Regions from separate parts of the Homo sapiens genome. Here region 1 is linked to region 2. Evidence: promoter capture Hi-C in 16 types of primary human blood cells and fetal thymus (Javierre and others, 2016). All regions are on one chromosome and are shown on one strand. The core of a region is centred on a gene start or on the middle of the fragment in contact, and the rest is flanking DNA. Distances in the headings are between cores, read along the strand shown.

Region 1 (6,425 bases), core at 3,772-6,271, 170 kb after region 2:
ACGCCTGTAATCCCAGCACTTTGGGAGGCTGAGGTGGGCAGATCACGAGGTCAGGAGATCGAGACCATTCTGGCTAACATGGTGAAACCCCGTCTCTACTAAAAATACAAAAAATTAGCCGGGGTAGTGGCATGCGCCTGTAGTCCCAGCTACTCGGGAGGCTGAGGCAGGAGAATCGCTTGAACTCGGGAGGCGGAGGTCACAGTGAGCAGAGATTGCGCCACTGCGCTCCAGCCTGGGCGACAGAGGGAGACTCCGTCTCAAAAAAAAAGTGGTTCAATAAATAATACTGTACCACAAATTTTGTTGTTTTTTGTCAAAGTAGCTAATTTTCTAAAAACAAAATTCTTGCTTTTGTGTTATCTATACTTTAGGAATAAGGGAACTAAAACTGAGCCTGTTGGAAATTTGTTTTACCATTAAGCAACAGCTATCCTTTGATCTTTCAATAACAAACATCTCAACAACCATGGCCAGAAGACCTATCTAAATCTACCAAAATAAATCATACAGAAGAAGATTTACAGGGAGAAGTCAGAAAAAAAGAGTGAAGTTACACGTAATACATGCCTTTTCCCAAATTCAACATTCATCTCCCTAGCTAACTCACTGCAGGGTCTGGATGTTACCTATAAAGACGTTCATTTTAGGCCAGGTGCAGTGGCTCAAGCCTGTAATCCCAGCACTTTGGGAGGCCAAGGCGGGTGGATCATGTGAGGTTGGGAGTTAGAGACCAGCCTGACTAACCTGGAGAAACCCCATCTCTAGTAAAAATACAAAATTAGCTGGGCTTGGTGGCGCATGCCTGTAATCCCAGCTACTCAGGAGGCTGAGGCAGGAGAAACGCTTGAACATGGGCGGCAGAGGTTGCGGTGAGCCGAGATGGCACCATTGCACTCCAGCTTGGGCAATAAGAGTGAAACTCTGTCTCAAAAAAAAAAAAGTTCATTTTGTACTTCCAAGATAGCAAAGTAGGGCCAGAGAAAGGTCATTAGACATAATATACTTCTCAGACATGCCACCAGAAGGTATGAAATAGGAGAGTTAGAAATGAGGAGAAACAGAGAAAAATGAAACAGGATACCTTACAACCTGGTACTTATCTTTACTCTCAGCATAGGTGACAATGTAGAGGGAACAGCTTCAGCCCAAGGATATAATTGTTATGCACATAGAATTAAGTGATGTGGCTGACCCCAGACCAGATTTTTTTTTTTGAGTCTTACTCTGTGGCCCAGACTGGAATGCAGTGGCACGATTCTGGCTCACTGCAGCCTCTATTTCCCAGGTTCAAGTGATTCTCCTGCCTCAGCCTCCCAAGTAGCTGAGATTACAGGCGCCTGCCACCACATATGGCTAATTTTGTATTTTTAGTAGAGACAGGGTTTCGCTATGTTGGCCAGGCTGGTATTGAACTCCTGACCTCAGGTGATCCACCCGCCTGAACCTCCCAAAGTGCTGGGATTACAGGCATGAGCCACCACGCCTGACCCTAAGACCAGATCCTTTTAAAAGACATAGAAACCATTCTGAGCCTGCAACTGCTTCTCATTTACACAGCTTCTGACAGCATTTTTTCTTTTTTTTTTTGTAGACAGAGTCTCGCTCTGTTGCCCAGGCTGGAGTGTAGTGGCACGCTCTCGGCTCACTGCAACCTCCTCCTCCCGGGTTCAAGCGATTCTCCTGTCTCAGCCTCCTCAGTAGCTGGGACTACAGGTGTGTGCCACCACGCCCGGCTAATCTTTTGTATTTTTAGTAGAGACGGGGTTTCACCGTGTTAGCCAGGATGGTCTCGATGTCCTGACCTCGTGATCCGCCCGCCTTGGCCTCCCAAAGTGCTGGGATTACAGGCGTGAGCCACCGCGCCCGGCTGACAGCATTTTTTTCCTCACTGTGGTCTTCTGCCATCCAGCCTTCCACACCTAGAACTCTCTGCTTTGCTAAGAACTAGGTTCCCTTTCCTTTGCCCTCTCAGTCCTCAAGAACCCTACCAATATTTAAACCCAATCAGATGAGGATTCTGGTTTTTTTTTTAAAGCGACACCTGCTGAAATGACAAGACAAGGATTCTAAATTGGAAAATGAACCACCATAAGTCTTTCCATTTCTAGTAAGACTAGTAATAATTATTAAAGAACATTGCACTAAAAAGATGTGCTTTAGGCTCCTCTCCACCATTCAATAACTGCATAACCCAATAAAGATAATCTGATCTTCCAAGGCTTCCCTTACTTGTGAAATAAAGCTACCACATTAAAGGCCTTAATGCAGCCCATGCAATATCTTTCCTACATTTTTTTTAAGAGACATGGTCTCACTATGCTTCCTAGGTTAGAGTGGAGTGGTTATTCACAGGCACAACAAGAGTGCACTCACACTACAGTCTTGAACTCCTGGGTTCAAGCAATCCTCTTGCCTCAGCCTCTGGAGCAGCTAGCACTACAGGAGCCCCTTCCTTACAATTCTTTGATAATTCAACTCAACAAGCGTTTGTTTCTCCAAATGTTACTTCACATTGGGGAAAGAAAATGACGCGTGAGTCATACCAGAAAGTCAAAATCCACACAACTGGTGAGAAGGGAAGGTTAAGAACTTTTTGCTTGAGAATTCAGTGGTAAAGTACTACTAGGGCTGGGCCGGATGCAGTGGCTCATGCCTGTAATCCCAGCACTTTGGGAGGCCAAGGCGGGTGGATCACGAGGTCAAGAGATTGAGACCATCTTGGCTAACGTGGTGAAACCCTCTCTACTAAAAATACAAAAATCAGCCAGGCGTGGTGGTGGGCACCTGTAGTCCCAGCTACTCAGGAGACTGAGGCAGAAGAGTCAATTGAACCCAGGAGGCGGAGGCTGCAGTGAGCCGAGACTGCACCACTGCGCTCCAGCCTGGCAACAGAGCAAGACTCCGTTTTAAAAAAAAAAAAAAAAAAGTATTACTAGGGCTCTTCTACATCTCTTAGCCTGGCATTCAAAAATTTTCAATGAAGCTATAAAGCTCCTCCACCCCAGCTAGTTTGTTTCCATTTATGTATTTTTCCTTATGCTGTATCTTTCCTGAAAACTTGTAAGCTTTCCCATCTTTCTTTTTTTCCCTTTCTTCTTAATATTTTTAGAAATGGGGTCTTGCTATGTTTACCAGATTGGTCTTGAACTCTTGGCAACAAGCAATCCTCCCCACTAGGCTTCCCAAAGTGCTAGGATTACAGGTGTGAGTCATCCCACCCAGTGAGCTTTCCCATCTTTTGCCTGCTTCTCTAGGATGCCAATCTGAATTCACCTTTTCCTTTAGCTTTGTCCCACACCAATCACTCCCTCAGCTTTCTATTTATCATACTACGTTCCCGCTTCCTAGCAACTTCACATCTTGATTTTCCATTTGGGCTCTTTTTTAAGTCTTCTAAAGAATTCAGGTTCCTCATAAAAGGAGTCATTACGCTTGGGCAACATGGCGAGACTCCCTCTGTACAGAAAATACAAAAATTAACTGCGGTGGTGGCGTGCGTCACTAGACCCAGCTAGTCAGGAGACTGAGGCAGGAGGATTGTTGAGTGACACAGCAAGACCCTGTCTCAATTTTTAAAAAGCGGGGCCGGGCGCTGTGGCTTACGCCTGTAATCCTAGCACTTTGGGAGGCAGAGGCAGGCAGATCACTTGAGGTCAGGAGATCAAGACCATCCTGGCCAACACGGTGAAACCCCATCTCTACTATAAATACAAAAATTAACCGGGCGTGGTGGCGGGAGCCTGTAGTACTGGCTGCTCAGGAGGCTGAGGCAGGAGAATGGCGTGAACCCAGGAAGCGGAGCTTGCAGTGAGCCGAGATCGTGCCGCTGCACTCCAGCCTGGGTGACAGAGCGAGACTCTGCCTCAAAAAAAAAAAAAAAAATTAAAATTAAAATTAAAAGCGGGGAGGTGCGGGGGGTGATTACTTGTTGAATACAATTCATACAGTTAGGTTTGAGGAAGAACTTTTTTTCTTTTTTTTTGAGATAGAGTCTCACTCTTGCCCAGGCTGGAGTGCAAGTGGCTCGATCTTGGCTCACTACAACCTCTGCCTCCCGGGTTCAAGCGATTCTCCTGCCTCAGCTCTCGAGTAGCTGAGATTACAGGCGTTTGCCACCACGCCCGGCTAATTTTTGTATTTTTAGTAGAGACACGGTTTCACCATGTTGGCCAGGCTGGTCTGAAACTCCTGACCGCATGTGATCCACCCGCCTCGGCCTCCCAAAGTGCTGGGATTACAGGCGTGAGCCACCGCGCCCGGCCCAGAACTTCATTTTTAAGATAATAAACTGAGGGGCTGAGACGTTTTAAGAGACTGTGAACACCTGGGCTGGCACTGTTTTGAGAACAATCAACGAAAGGGGAAGGGAGAGAATAACCACCGCACTTCCCAGAGAGTCTAGGCATGATTCTGGTCCCTTAACAGTTACCTGTTTAGGGTCCTGTATGCGCTTTCCACGTTCCCTTCCTGTACCATCACAGTCCTGGCGATGAACTTCAGATGTTTTGCCATGACCTTGGATTTAAACCTTCACTCTGTAGAGCCTAAAGGATGATGGAGAAAGGGCGAGGAAAGCAGAAAGAGAAACGCAACATAATACAAACTACACCGCGCGGCTTATTTAGGATTTGGAAATTCAACATGCTCAGGGACGCGCGAGATGGAGCACATGGAAGTCATCCTAGAAAGTAGACGTGAATCGTTGTCTCTTATTCTCACTGCCAGTCCAAATCCTCGCATAGAGAAGAAAAGAGATGGCAGCAGGGCGTTACCACAAAGACGCGTCGCCGGGCATGAGAAGGACACGAGCGACAAGGATGCGCCACAGGGTCCCAACCACCACACATAGTTCCAAAAGGGGTTGAGTTGGGAGTTGGGGAAGGACTCTTTGTTGGTCTTTGGAAAAGGGGGCGAAAGCCCGCAAACCTGCCCTCTCGCCAAGCCAGCCTTCCTTTCCCCAAACCCTGCACAACTCCTCACCTCGCGCGCTCAGTACCTAGCCCACCGGAAGGGTTCTCACTACCGGAAGCGGAAATTACGGAATCGCCAGCGCCGCGCAAAGAAACAGGCCGAGGGAGACAACGTGCGTGGAAACCATAGCAACGTCCTTTCTGGCCTCTGTTGACTGCCTCTCTTCCCCGGGCCTGGACTCTACACCTGACAAAGCAAAATACTCATTGACTTAAATTCCCCCGAAACACGTTTCTCGCCCTCTCATGGAGTCGAAGTCCTTCGGCCTCTGAGAAGGTCAGCCCAATTTCATACCCCTTAATCCTGTGAAATCCTTGATAAATATTTGAGCCATTTCTCTTTCTCGATGGAAAACAAGAGAAGTAGGCGCTTCCTGAGGATGCTTCCTGTTTTCTCTTTGGAAAGGACAGACTCTTTGAGATCTGCTCTCCGGACGAAAAATAGATTGATTCATACACGTCATCTGCCTAAGTGCTAAGGAAAAGAAATAAACATACTGTGAGTTTCCTATATCATCTTCCCACTAATTTAACTACATAAAGTGAAATCAATAAAGATATATGGGAAACACCTGCAGGGTTTAGAATAAAAAATTATGTCAGCTTCTATGCCTTTTCGTGCTAATGAGACCTACTGAAAAACCTCCTTTTAAATTTCTTCTTCGCTGTGGAGACACCCGTCCTCCTATTTGTATGCTACCTGTACATATCCATTTATGGTTATTCACGTAAGTTAACATCTAATGGCTGTAGGAAAACGTACCTCCCTTAGAGAGAGAGTGCGCGCGCACGCTCACGCACACACACACACACACAGACACAGACACAGACGTGTGCATCATCAGTTGATGCTAATAACTTACACTAACACTTAAGCCCACCTCAGAGTAAGCCAGGTCCAAAGTAACGAAATAGAACTAGATTGGGACATTATTATGCTTGTCAACAAACTTTCACTGAATGACTACTCTGTGTCAGATACTGTTGATACCACTCTAGTGCCTCCTGGACCACTAGGACCACATAAAAGATACTAAAACAAAGTAGTATATAATAAATGCAAAATAAATTATATGGGCTGGACGCGGTGGCTCACACCTGTAATCCCAGCACTTTGGGAGGCCAAGGCAGGCGGATCACTTGAGCCCAGAAGTTCGAGACCAGCCTGGGCAACAAAGCAAAACTCCGTCTTTACAAAAAATATAGAAATTAGCCGGGTGTAGTGGCATGGCCTGTTGTCCTAGCTACTTGGGAGGCTGAGGGGGAGGATCACCTGAGCCTGGAAGGTCAAGGCTGCAGCGAGCTTTGATCACACCACTGCACCCTGGCCTGGGCAATAGAGTGAGACCCTGTCTCAAAAAATTAAAAATGAATAAATAAATAAATAGGGCCAGGCGCGGTGGCGCACGCCTGTAATCCCAGCACTTTGGGAGGCTGAGGCGGGTAGATCAC
Region 2 (7,497 bases), core at 1,265-3,764:
CAGGCGTGATCACAGTGAACTACACGTCCTGGAATTCCTGGCTTCAAGTGATCCTCCTGCATTTGCCTCCCGAGTAGCTGGGACTACACGGTATCCCACCTTGCCTGGCAAAATTTATTTAAAAAATTTCGGGCTGGGTGCAGTGGCTCATGATTGTAATCCCAACATTTTAGGAGGCCAAGATGGGAGGAACACTTGAGCCCAGGAGTTCAAGATCAGCCTGGGCAACATAGTAAGACACTGTCTCTACCAAAAAACCCACAAAACTTAGCCAGATGTGGTGGTGCACACGTGTGATCTCAGCCACTCAAAGGCTCAGGTGGGAGGATCACTTGAACCCAGAAGTTTGAGGTTACAGTGAGCCATGACTGCACCCCTGCACTCCAGCCTGGGTGATGGAGTGGGACCTTGTCTCAAAATAAATAAATAAATGGCCGGATGCGGTGGCTCACGCCTGTAATCCCAGCACTTTGGGAGGCCAACGCGAGCAGATCACGAGGTCAGGAGATCGAGACCATCCTGGCTAACATGGTAAAAGCCCGTCTCTACCAAAAATACAAAAAATTAGCTGGGCGTGGTGGCAGGCACCTGTAGTCCCAGCTACTCAGGAGGCTGAGGCAGGAGAATGGCGTGACCTGGGAGGCGGAGCTTGCAGTGAGCTGAGATCGCGCCACTGCACTCCAGCAGCCTGGGGGACAGAGTGAGACTGTCTCAAAATAAATAAATAAATAAATAAAAATAAAATTCCATTAAAAAGGTTTTATATACTTAACCCTTGCAAAGGGTTATTCATAAAATTTTTATAATTTACAGGTTTTTTTTTTGTTTTTTGTTTTTTTTTGAGACAAGAGTCTCGCTCTGTCAACCAGGCTGGAGTGCAGTGGCTTGATCCTGGATCACTGCAACCTCTGCCTTCTGGGTTCAAATGATACTTATGCCTCAGCCTTATGAGTAGCTGGGATTACAGGTACGTGCCACCACAGCTGGCGAATTTTTTCTTTTTTTGAGACGGAGTCTTGCTCTGTTGCCCAGGCTGAAGTGCAGTGGCGTGATCTTGGCTCACTGCAACCCCCGCCTCCCAGGTTCAAGTGATTGTCCTGCCTCAGCCTCCCAAGTAGCTGGGACTACAGATGCATGCCACCATGCCCAGCTAATTTTTGTATTTTTAGTAGACAGGGTTTCACCAAGTTGGCCAGGCTGGTCTTGAACTCCTGACTTCAGGTGATCCGCCTGCCTTGGCCTCCCAAAGTGCTGGAAATACAGGCGTGAGCCACCAAACCTGGCCTAATTTTTGTTTTTTGTTTTTTTTTGAGACGGAGTATTGCTCTGTCGCCCAGGCTGTGCAGTGGCGCGATCCTGGCTCACTGCAAGCTCCGCCTCCTGGGTTCAGGCCATTCTCCTGCCTTAGCCTCCCGAGCAGCTGGGACTACAGGCGCCCGCCACCATGCCTGGCTATTTTTTTGTATTTTTAGTAGAGACGGGGTTTTACCATGTTGGCCAGGATGGTCTCGATCTCTTGACCTCGTGATCCACCCGCCTCGGCCTCCCAAAGTGCTGGGATTACAGGTGTGAGCCACCACGCTCGGCCATAATTTTTGTTTTTTTAAGTAGAGATGGGGTTTCGCCATGTTGTCCAGGTTTGTCTCCAACTCCTGGCCTCAAGTGATCAACCTGCCTCCACCTCCCAAAGTGGTGGCGTGAGCCACCACACCTGGCCCTATAGTATTCTTCATAACAGTAAAAAACTGGAAACATACTAAGTGCCTAATAATAAAGGATTAGATAAGTTACCACATGCTATGCAGCTATTAAAAATGATGTAGAGAAATATTTAATGATTCATAAAAACATTCAAGATATGTAATTAACTTTTAAATAGCTAGTTTTGAAACAGTATATGCAATACACTTACTTTTTTAAAAATTGTTATACATATTTAATTCTCCAAAACATTCATATACACATATACTTTTAAGGGTAAACACAAGTGGTTTCCTTTGGGGTAACAGGATTATAGATATTTATTAAAAAATTTTTTTCATTTAAAATTTTTTATTTAGAGATAGGGTCTCACTATATTGCCAAGGCTGGTCTCGAACTCCTGGCCTCAGGCAATCTACCATCTCAGCCTCCCAAAGTGCTGGGATTACAGGCATGAGCCACCACGCCTGGCCTAGATATTTATTTCATTCTCTTTGCTTATTTTCTAATTTTTCTATAATGACCGATTATTGGATTATTTTTTAATTTAACAATTAATTTAGCTGGGTGCGCTGGCTCACGCCTGTAATCCCAGCACTTTGGGAGGCCAAGATGGGTGGATCACCTGAGGTCAGGAGTTTGAGACCAGCCTGACCAACATGGTGAAACCCCGTCTCTACCAAAAATACAAAATTAGCTGGGCATGGTGGCACATGCCTGTAGTCCCAGCTATTTGGGAGGCTAAGGCAGAATTGCTTGAACCTGGGAGATGGAGGCTGCAGTGAGTGAAGTTTGCACCATTGCACTCCAGCCTAGGTAACATGACTGAAACTCCGTCTCAGAAAAAAAAAAAAAAATCATTAATTAAAAAAAATCAACAACAGACTGGGCACGGTGACTCACGCCTATAATCCCAGCACTTTGGGAGGCCGAGGTGGGTGTATCACCTGAGGTCAGAAGTTCAAGACCAGCCTGGCCAACATGGTGAAACCCCATCTCTACTAAAAATACAAAAATTAGCCGGGCGTGGTAGCAGGTGCCTGTAATCCCAGCTACTTGGGAGGCTGAAGCAGCAGAACACTTGAACCCGGGAGGCAGAGGTTGCAGTGAGCCAAGATTGCACCACTGCACTCCTGCCTGGGAGACAGAGCGAAACTCTGTCTAAACAACAACAACAACAACAACAACAACCCCCCCAAAAACAGATTAATGATTCAATTTAAAAAGATGGAAATTAACTTTTTATCCTCCTTACTGGGCTTACTTACCAGTATTTTTCATGACTGATGTTAAACTGCTAAGGATGGAACTGATCTTTGCCAGATCCACATTAGCCAGGTTTGGCAAAGCCAATGCTGGGGAAGGGGAAAGAGAAGTATTCACAGGCTTTGGAAGAGGTGGAGTTGCTGTCATGGTCACAGGCACTGGGGTACATGAAGAGGCCTTTGAGATATTTTCTGTTGGCTTTGTAGGTACAGAAGTGGATACAGCTGACTTCTCTGCAGGTTTTTCCTTCCTGTCCTCGACTGTTTCAACAAAGAAAAGAGATATTACATCCTACTACTTTCCAGACTTTGCTTCCTATATGAAATAACATGTCCTAATATTTCCGGACTTGGGGGAAAAGGCACTACTTTAGAGAAAACAACGACTCACTTCATGCTTTTTTGAAAAAGTCATACTCTTCATAATTTATGATAATTCCCACCTTTAATATCTGCTTAAAAGCAATTTCCAGCTGGGGACAATGGCTCATGTGAGGTCAGGATTTCGAGACCAGCCTGGTCAACATGGTGAAATCCTGCCTCCACAAAAAATACAAAAAATTAGCTAGGTGTGGTGGCAGGCGTCTATAATCCCAGCTACTACAGAGGCTGAGACACGAGAATCGCTTGAACCCAGGAGGCAGAGGTTGCAATGAGCCGAGATTGTGCCACTGCATTCCAGCCTGGGCAACAAAGCGAGACTCCCGTCTCAAAAAAAAAAAAAAAAGCAAGCAATTTCCAGAATTTATCTTGTATCTTACTTTTCAATGATTCCTTTGCATTTTCTTAGTATTTGTGTATTAAATCTGTACAATTCAAGAAGCATGTTATTATTTGGTACACATTTGTGTTCTGTCTTTTGGAAATGATATTTTTCATAAATTGTCCTGTGTTTTTCTTTTCCATTAACCTGAGAACTTTCTAAGAACTTCTGTTCTTAGAAACAGAACCTCTATAGTGTTCATTGTATTTTCCTCTGGCTTCCTGAAATTGCCCTATTGGGGGGTGCAATCAGGCACTAGCTAATTTGAAACTACAATGTTTTAACTCTCAATCACCTTGAATAATTATTTTTAATGCTTTAAGGGCTGTATCAATAGTGCATTGAATTCAACAGGAGTCAAACTATCTAATAAGATTTATGAAGGCTGGGGATATAAGAGAAACAATTCACCAAATCAGGTTATTTCTGAAAGTGTGATTAACAAACTGACTTTGGAATTCTTGATGGTCAAAAGTGACAGAGAATAAGGAATTCCAGTATAAGTGACCCCTCATCCCAAAACAGTGCTATTTAACATGAATACAATTTAAGCCACATATGCCACATATGTAAGTTTAAATTTTCTAGCAGCCAAATTAACAAAAAAAGAATCAGGGCCGGGCATGGTGGCTCAAGCCCACCTCCCAGCACTTTGAGAGGCCGAGGCAGGCGGATCACTTGAGGTCAGGAGTTCGAGACCAGCCTGCCCAACATGGTGAAACTCCGTCTCTAATAAACATACAAAAAATAGCCGGGTGTGGTGGTATGCACCTACAATCAATCCTAGCTACTCGGGAGGCTGAGGCAGGAGAATTGTTTGAACGCAGGAGATGGAGGATGCAGTGAGCCAAGATTGCGCAACTGCACTCCAGCCTGGGCGACAGAGGGAAACTCTCTTTTTCTCTCAAAAACAAACAAATAAAAAGAAACAGACACATGTAATTTAAAAATTCTATTTTATTCATCCTAATATATCCCAAATATTTTCATTTCAGTGTTATAAATAAAAAATTATTAATGAGATATTTTAACTCTTTGGGAGAGTTTCTGCCACCATGCTCGGCCTAGTTTCTGGACTCCAATGTGTCTGGTTTTTTTTTTTTGGAGAGAGGGTCTCCCTCTGTCATCTAGGCTGGAGTGCAGTGACATGGTCTTGGCTCACTGCAACCTCCGCCTCCCAGGCTCAAGTGATTCTCCTGCCTCAGCCTTTCCAGCAGCTGGGGCTACAGACGCATGCCACCACGCTGACTAATTTTTATATTTTTTGTAGAGACAGGGTTTCACTATGTTGCCCAGGCTGGTCTCAAAGTCCTGGGCTCAAGCAATCTGCCCGCCTCAGCCTCACAAAGTGCTGAGATTACAGGCATGAGCCACTGCACCTGGCCTCAATGTGTATTTTATACTTATAGCACATCTCAAGTTGGACAAGCTTCATTTCAAATGCTTAGCCACAGGTAGCTAGTAGCTACTTTCCCCCGACCGTCCCCCCAAGACGGAGTCTCGCTCTGTCTCCCAGACTGGAGTGCAGTGGCATAATCTCAGCTCACTGCAACCCCTCTCTCAGGTTCAAGCGATTCTCTTGCCTCAGCCTCCCGGGTAGCTGGAATTACAGGTACCTGCCACCATACCCGGATAAGTTTTGTATTTTTAGTAGAGACAGGGTTACACCATGTTGGCTAGGGTGGTCTCGAACTCCTGACCTCAGGTGATCCACCTGCCTTGGCCTCCCAAAGTGCTGGGATTACAGGCATGAGCCACCGCCCATGGCCTAGTAGCTAGCATTTTAACAGTGCAGATACTGAGCAATGATTCTTAACACATTTGGCATATCAAATCCTCAACAACTGCTCTAGAGATTATAATGCTACCTTGGTGTTCTATCTTTTAAGAAATGAACTATCTTTCAATACCTGCCTGTGATGTATTCATTGCTGAGAAGGCAAAACAGATAAGGAATAAGTTGTCTATTAATCACATAAAGACATACCAATGATTTTTGACCCATCATCTTCCACATCTGAGAGTTCCATGTCTTCCACATCACGATTATCTGTCACAGGTTCAGGTGTGGCAGATTTCTCACTCTCCATGGTTGGTGACTGGGATTCCTCACCTCCCATTCCCTGAAAAGGAGACTCAGAACCAGTCGGGGAGGGAGCGTCCATGCTTGGGGAAGGAACTGGTGATTCTTCAGGATCTGGAAGGGTTGACTTCAATTGATCCAACTTCTTCTTTAAATTGTTTACTCGGTTAGCAAAGGTTTTATATGCCTAAAAGAGAAAAAAGGAGTTTACTCCTTGGAAAAAGACCAGAAAGTTAACATTTTTTCTTTTTGAGGCAGAGTCTCACTTTGTCACCCAGGCTAGAGTGTAGTGGCACAATCTTGGTTCACTGCAACCTCTGCCTCCTGGGTTGAAGTGATCCTTCTACCTCAGCCTTCCAAGTAGCTGGATCCACAGGAACACATCACCATGCCTGGCTAATTTTTGTATTTTTAATAGAGATGGGGTTTCACCATGTTGGCCACGCTGGTCTCGAACTCCTGGCCTCAAGTGATCCACACGCCTCAGCCTCCCAAAGTGCTGGGATTATAGGCATGAGCCACCAAACCCAGCCTCTTCTTTTTTTTTTTGAGAAGGAATTTCGCTCTTGTTGCCCAGGCTGCAGTGCAGTGGCATGATCATAGCTCACTGCAACCTCTGCCTCCTGGGTTCAAGTGATTCTCCTGCCTCGGCCTCCCAAGTAGCTGGAATTATAGGCGTGCACCACCACACCCGGCTAATTTTTGAATTTTTAGTAGAGACGGGGTTTCACCATGTTGGCCAGGCTGGTCTTGAACTCCTGATGTCAGGTAATCCATGCACCTCGGCCTCCCAAAGTGCTGGGATTACAGGCTTGAGTCACCGTGCTCGGCTGCTTTTTTTTTTTTTAAATAAAATTTTATTCTCTTAAATGAGAGATGAGGTCCTGCTATGTTATCCAGGCTAGTCTTGAACTCCTCGGCTCAAGTGATCCTCCCACCTCAGCCTCCCAAAATGCTAGGATTGCAGGCATACACCATCATCCCTGGCGACCCATTTTGACTCTGATTAGATTTTCTATTATTAATCACGTACATTGCTGGCACAAAACAAGATAATATATCATCTGTCAAGCATGCAGTAGTTTCTAGTTTCTGCTTTTTATACTCCCTAAGTGAATATTACCATCCACACAGTTGCCTGAGTTAGAAACCTAGCAGTTATCTGTAATTTATATTCCCTTGCTCCTGTTTATCTATCCAACCAACCAATATTTATTGAGAGCCTAAATGTATCTTCTAGGTACTGGAGATACAGCAAGAAATGAGACAGACAAGAAAAAAAAAATCAAATCCAAAAATAAAGCAAAGCCTGGGAGGTCAGATGCTATTGTTTTAAAAAACAGGGGCTGGGCCTGGTGGTTCATGTCTGTAATCTCAGCACTTTGGGAGGCTGAGGCAAGGAGGATCACTTGAAGCCAGGAGTTCAAGACCAGCCTGGGCAACATAGGGAGATACTGTCTCTACAAAAAAATAAAAAAAAATTAGCTGGGCATAGTAGCATGCGCCTGTAGTCCCAGCTGCCTGTAGTGCCAGCTACTTAGGGGGCTGAGGTGGGAGGACTGCTTGAGCCCAGGTCAGGGCTGCAGTGAGCAGTGATCACACCACTGCACTCCAGCTTGGGTGACAAAGCGAGACCCTATCTCAAAACAAAAATAGTTTGTTGTAAAAGAAGTTTTAGGTGTTAG

Evidence for each region. The method cuts DNA at HindIII sites, captures the fragments that hold promoters and counts their contacts. A CHiCAGO score of 5 or more calls a contact.
Region 1: a contact is called between the fragment with the promoter of MRPS21 here and a fragment that was not itself captured in region 2, in 2 of 17 cell types (M1 macrophages and M2 macrophages). The highest score is 5.7, in M1 macrophages.

The regions. Positions count from the first base shown.
Region 1 is chr1:150,292,457-150,298,881 of GRCh38, reverse strand. MRPS21 (mitochondrial ribosomal protein S21) reads right to left here and starts at 5,021. Exons shown (of 3, transcript NM_031901.6): 1 at 4,984-5,021; 2 at 4,433-4,547. The coding sequence starts at 4,515. It overlaps LOC105371434 (a long non-coding RNA gene), which reads left to right and starts at 5,062. Exons shown (of 2, transcript XR_922129.4): 1 at 5,062-5,250; 2 at 5,385-5,582. RefSeq lists enhancers at 1,283-1,840, 4,674-4,733. The HindIII fragment of the contact is 15,404 bases long and covers 3,071-6,425 here.
Region 2 is chr1:150,455,790-150,463,286 of GRCh38, reverse strand. RPRD2 (regulation of nuclear pre-mRNA domain containing 2) reads right to left here. Exons shown (of 11, transcript NM_015203.5): 8 at 5,717-5,999; 9 at 2,970-3,227. Among named protein-coding and RNA genes, the nearest start is that of TARS2, 28 kb to the left of the region's middle. The HindIII fragment of the contact is 5,293 bases long and covers 1-5,160 here.